Regions from separate parts of the Homo sapiens genome. Here region 1 is linked to region 2. Evidence: promoter capture Hi-C in human tissues and cell types (Jung and others, 2019). All regions are on one chromosome and are shown on one strand. Each heading gives the region's core, a stretch centred on a gene start or on the middle of the fragment in contact. The rest is flanking DNA. Distances are from core to core; before and after follow the strand shown. Region 1 overlaps EXOC7 (exocyst complex component 7). Region 2 holds the start of QRICH2 (glutamine rich 2).

Region 1 (2,747 bases), core at 87-2,586, 220 kb after region 2:
CTGGCCCAGAGCCGCTCGCACCTTTGTGAGCAGTCCTGGGTGGCAGGATGGACAGTGACATGTTTAGTGTCTCTAGCAGACAGGGCCTTTCCTGGCAGGCTAGAGTGAAAATGAAGTTTCCAGCCGCGCTCTTCACTGGGCGGATCCCAGCCCTGGGCTGGCCCTGGGCACTCAGAGGGGTCGCTGTGGGAGGCCGTCGGCCGGGCCTGCCACTTGCCCTTCTGCACCGTTTTCTTCCCACCCAGGCCATCCTCTTCCTGCAGCAGCTTTTGGACTTCCAGGAGACGGCAGGCGCCATGCTGGCCTCCCAAGGTACTGGTACCTCCCAGTTGGGCCCCCTGCCCCACTCGCCTCCTTGCCTGGAGACATGGGGTTAGAGGGCAGGTAGCAGTGAGGAGGTATCTCCAGTCTGTGGAGGGGTTGAGGTGTGCTCAGCAGAGGGTCCCTGGGGCTGAGCATCAGGAGAGCAAGGTTTGCCTGCACCTTTCAAGACCAGACACTGGACCTCTGGCCCCTCCCTCAGCCCCTTTGACCGTCCTCGCCCTGGAAGCAGTGTCCTCACTCTGGGAGCGGTGCTGGTTGGTTGGAAGGTGTCCTTTCTGCCCCTGCCCCCCTCCCAAATCCTTCTCTCGTGTCTGCCTGCTCTCCTAATCAGGCTCGCTCAGCTGGCCTTCAGAGGGTAGCAAGTGTCTCAGGGCCCGCTGGGCGTCTTCCTGCTGGCCCTGCCCTGGGACTGGAGCTCAGGGGGTTGGCCTGTAAGCAAGAGCACCTTTCTGGGTCATTCCAAGCACTGAGGTCCCTGGGCCCTCTCCTCCCGTCCCATTTTGGGGGCAAGGAGCCTGTGGGCAGCCTCCAGCCTGCAGTTCTCAGCTCTCTACTTTCCAGGGTGTTCCCTGGTCCTCAGAGGGTCCCGCCTGCTGTGTCTTGCTATCTGTGTTTTGGCTGTCGTGGGGAGAGGTCTGCTTAATTCGGGTTGACATGCCGTTTCTAACCTGTTTTTTGCACTTTGCATCTTTCTCCCTCCTTTGTCTCTCCCTCTGTCCCCTCTGTGTGCACTGCCTTTCACTCCGTAGTTCTTGGGGACACATACAATATTCCTTTAGACCCCCGAGGTAAGCAGTGCGGTTCTGCAGCCCCCTCCTGTCCCTCTGAAGCTTGGTGGGTGAGGTTCCCTGGGGACTGACTCTCAGTACCTACTGGGGAGCCTGAGTCAGAGGGGACATGAGTTTTCTCGGGGTGCTCTCAACTCTCTCTGCTCCCTTCAAGGCCACTCTGTCTCTGAGCTTATCCGCAGCACCTGCCCAGGCTAGAGCCCTGGATACACCCCCTAGGCTCGCCCGGCCTCCCTGCCTTGCTGTCCCCACTCGGCCTTCCCCACTGTGCAGGCCGCAGCTTCGTCTGTTCAGTAGGGTCTGGTAGAGGGGATGTTCGAATGTAGGGGAGAAGGTGGAGAGGCTGTGGGGAGCCCATTCTAAGACTCTGCTGTTGACAAAAGGAAAAAGGGGGCCTTGTAGAAACCACCCAGGGTGGGTGGGGGCAGGAGGGGACAGGGCGCTGGCATCTCACTCTTTTCCTGCCAGCTTTTCTGCTGACATGGGCCAGCTCCATCCCATCATAGAGGGCAGCTCTGGGTTCCAAAAACTCCAGGGCTGGTGCTTCCTGCGGCAGGGGCCACCCTGTGGCTTAGCAGGCAGCCAGCTCTGCCCAAGGAAGCCCAGGGCCTGTCTCAGTGTCCCCTCAGACTGCTGCATGGCCTGGGGGAAGGGCCGTTGAGGGTCTTGGCTGCTGCCACTGCAATAACAGGACTTCTCCTCTCACAGAGACCAGCTCTTCGGCCACCAGCTACAGCTCTGAGTTCAGCAAGCGGCTGCTAAGCACCTATATCTGTGAGTGTTCTCCCGGGCAGACCAGCAGCCCTGCTGCCTGCATGCCCTGCCTTTCCCTTCCTTCTGTCTGTGCTCTCTGGCTATTCCCAGGGCCCTCTCCTAAGTGCCATCTGATCTTTGGAACCACAACCTGACCTCTAGTTCAGAGGCTGAGGGGAGTTGGGCTAAGGCCTCCTGAGGCAGGACGAGGAGCGATGGATAGGAGCGCGTTCGCGGGTCCTGGGGTGGGGTCGTTTGGGTCAGACTGCCATGGTGGGTGTGGCCCCATTTTTCCCTGTGCAGGTAAAGTGCTGGGCAACCTGCAGTTGAACTTGCTGAGCAAGTCCAAGGTGTACGAGGACCCAGCTCTGAGCGCCATCTTCCTGCACAACAACTACAATTACATCCTCAAGTCCCTGGAGAAGTAAGTGGCCTGCGGGAGTGAGTCTGCGGCTCTCACCTTCCCCTCGGCTGTGCAGCTGTGCCAGCCCCTGCCCCCCTGGGCTCCTTCTCTTGTGGACGAGAGGGGAGGGGGTGCTTCAGTCTCCTCCACCCCAGGACCCGGAAGGTGGGATGCCATAGAGCTTGTGGAGTTTGGGGTGCAATGGGAGGCCCTCCCGGCATTGCCGCAGCCTTTGGGCCTGAGGAGCCAATCCTGTCCTCCTCTCCTCTGTCCCCTACCCCGACCCAGGTCTGAACTGATCCAGCTGGTGGCAGTGACACAGAAGACTGCTGAGCGCTCCTACCGGGAGCACATTGAGCAGCAGATCCAGACCTACCAGCGCAGGTGAGAGGCTGGGCCCGCCCTGCTCCTGCATGGGCCCCTGTGCCACCACGCACTCTTCCTTCTCAGCACCTCAGGACACAGAGTCGGTCACGGGG
Region 2 (2,777 bases), core at 9-2,508:
TGCTTCTGTTAGGAAGTTTTATTTATACGTTTTTGGGAAGAATCTTGTATGGGGAAGTCATGTCTCAATTGTTAACACCAGATTTGTCTCGTGCTGTTTAATCCTGCTTTGTAATGAGCTCAAGCACAGGCGCTTGACCAGGTGAGTGGTTTCTTTTCTTTTCTTTTTTTTTTTTTTTGAGACAGAGTCTTGCACTGTCGCCCAGGCTGGGGTGCAGTGGTGCGATCTTGGCTCACTGCAACCTCTGCCTCCCGGGTTGACGCGATTCTCCTGCCTCAGCCTCCCGAGTAGCTGGGATTACAGATGCGCGGTACCATGCCCGGCTAATTTTTTGTATTTTTAGCAGAGGGGTTTCACTATGTTGGCTAGGCTGGCCTTGAACCCCTTACCTCAGGTGATCCACCCGCCTCGGCCTCCCAAAGTGCTGGGATTACAGGTGTGAGCCACCAAGCCTGGCCGTTTTTTTGAGATCAATTAATTTATGGCAGGCTGGGCGCGGTGGCTTACACCTGTAATCCCAGCACTTTGGGAGGCCGAGGTGGGTCGATCACTTGAGGTCGGGAGTTCAAGACCAGCCTGGCCAACATAGTGAAACCCCGTCTCTGCTAAAAATACAAAAAATTAGCCGGGCATGGTACCACGCATCTGTAATCCCAGCTACTCGGGAGGCTGAGGCAGGAGAATCATGTCAACCCGGGAGGCAGAGGTTGCAGTGAGCCGAGATCGTGCCATTGCACTACAGCCTGGGCGACAGAGCAAGACTCCCTCTCAAAAGTAAAAAAAAAATTATGGCAGCACAGAAAAGGGACAATTAGCCACCAGTTAGTCATCTAGTGGCTAATTGGAACTGCCTGAATAGTGAGTGGGTTGTCTTTTCCAAGTTGCTTCACCTTTGATTGAACAAAATATGTGGACTGTCTGAGGGGACCAGGGCCCCAGGACTGCATCCCTTAGACATGGGGCCATAGACATGGGGCCACCACTCTGGAATGGACGCAGCTGATGACACAAAGCATGGTTGCCAGGAAACCCTCAAGTCTTTCCTTATGTGGCCCCGCCAAGAGTGAGTGAATCCTGGCCTTTCTAGGTTAAGGGGATGGATGGAGTCTAGCTGGATCTTAGGAGGCCTCCTCAGCCCGTTGCCAAGGCTCCCCTTGTGATCCTTGTGGTGGCCTTTACTTCCCCCCGCCCCCGTGGCTCGCAGGGAGGCGTGTTGTTACGTGGAATCTTCAGGGCACGCGGGGGCCCCCACGTTTCAAACGTCCGCCGGCGCGGGGACTGGGAGTCCAGGGCTCCAGCTCGGGGACCCGAGGCCAGCGACAGACAGCGGAGGGGTGGCCATCGCGGACCCCGCCGGGGAGCGGAGGCGCAGATTCCCTGGAGGCAGGAGCTCTGTCCAGTGACTCGGCCGGACCCGGGGCAGGGGCGCCCCGAGGACCTCGCAGGGCCCCCGAAAGGCCCCAAGGCGCGGCGTGCAGTGAGCGGGAAGTGGTTGGCCGGCGCCCCGCGGCGGCGCACAGCTCCTGACAGCCACGATGCCGCCCGCGACCACGGTCTCCCTCCGGGAGCTGGCGGACCTCTCCATCGGCACGCCAGAGGTGGGCGCCGTCAACTTCACGGCCCTGCACACGCTCATCGTGGCCATGCTCAAGAACCTCGACCTCCAAAATACCCGGATCGACTTCCAGCCCTCGTCGCCCGAGCCCAGCCGCTCGCTGCAGTCCGTCCGGAGCTCGTTCAGCATCCCGCACCTGCCCGCGCCCAAGGAGGTGCCCAAGGGGGCGCCCCGGGAGAAGCGCAGGGGCGTGGGCCAGGCGCCTTCGTCAGCGCTGGAGAGCCAAGTGAAGGACCTGGGCGGCCAGGTGGAGGACCTGAGCAAGCAGCTCAAGCGTGTGGACGGCCAGGTGCAGGGCATCGCCACGCACGTGCAGCACTTCTCCCAGGCCAGCGGGCTTGACCTGGCCGCGCTAGAGTGGCCGGAGGAGCAGGAGGTGGGCGTGCGGGCGTTCGATAGGGTGCGGACTGGGAGTATCATGAAGGACGCCGCCGAGGAGCTCAGCTTTGCCAGGGTGAGCACGCACACGGAGGCACGCGCAGGCCGTCTGCCTCCTCCAGGCCGCCCTCCAGGCCTAGCCGAGTCCCCACCACCCTGGAGGGGTGAGCGGTGGTGGGGACGGAGGGGATGGGGACCGAGGAGGTGCCAGACCTCAGTGCGACTGGCTAAATAGAGTGGCCCATGCTCTACCTTGCAGTCCACGGGGCTGCAAGACGTGAAAATCCTAAAAGAACGCCACCAAAAGGCCTAGGGCCTCCCCGAGCTGGAGGGGCCTGGGGACCCCACCTCCTAAGTGTAGTGGCCCCATCCCACCCCCTCCTTCCTAGCCCCTGTTTACGGGAGAGGTTCGCCCACCACTTATCAGACATCCAAGGACCCAGAGCTGGCTCAGAGTGGGGCCGGCAACTTCTCAGAAGATTCTTAGAGTGAATTCCCTTTTTAAAATGAATAAGGACATGAAGAGATACGTGTTGAGGACAAAGGCTCCCAGAGAAGGGGAGTCAGGATGGAGAGTTGGACCTCAGCTTCCTATGGCCATGACACAAGCCACAGCAGGCAGGGGACCGTTTCACTTGGACTTTTTTTTTTTTTGAGAAGGAGTCTCACTCTATCACCCAGGCTGAAATGCAGTGGTGCAGTCTCGGCTCACTGCAACTTCCGCCTCCCAGACTCAAGCGATTCTCCTGCCTCAGCCTCCCGAGTAGCTGGGATTATAGGCGCG

The links. The method cuts DNA at HindIII sites, captures the fragments that hold promoters and counts their contacts. A contact is called where the count stands out against the background at its distance.
Region 1: a fragment that was not itself captured here is called in contact with the fragment with the promoter of QRICH2 in region 2 in 1 of the 25 tissues and cell types used here (lymphoblastoid cells).

What each region holds. Positions count from the first base shown.
Region 1 is chr17:76,085,219-76,087,965 of GRCh38, reverse strand. EXOC7 (exocyst complex component 7) reads left to right here. Exons shown (of 19, transcript NM_001013839.4): 12 at 246-312; 13 at 1,821-1,886; 14 at 2,169-2,289; 15 at 2,557-2,652. Among named protein-coding and RNA genes, the nearest start is that of ZACN, 7.4 kb to the right of the region's middle. The HindIII fragment of the contact is 7,063 bases long and covers 1-2,747 here.
Region 2 is chr17:76,306,757-76,309,533 of GRCh38, reverse strand. QRICH2 (glutamine rich 2) reads left to right here and starts at 1,258. Exons shown (of 19, transcript NM_001388453.1): 1 at 1,258-2,069. The coding sequence starts at 1,536. It overlaps PRPSAP1 (phosphoribosyl pyrophosphate synthetase associated protein 1), which reads left to right. Exons shown (of 10, transcript NM_002766.3): 10 at 1-56. The HindIII fragment of the contact is 11,814 bases long and covers 1-2,777 here.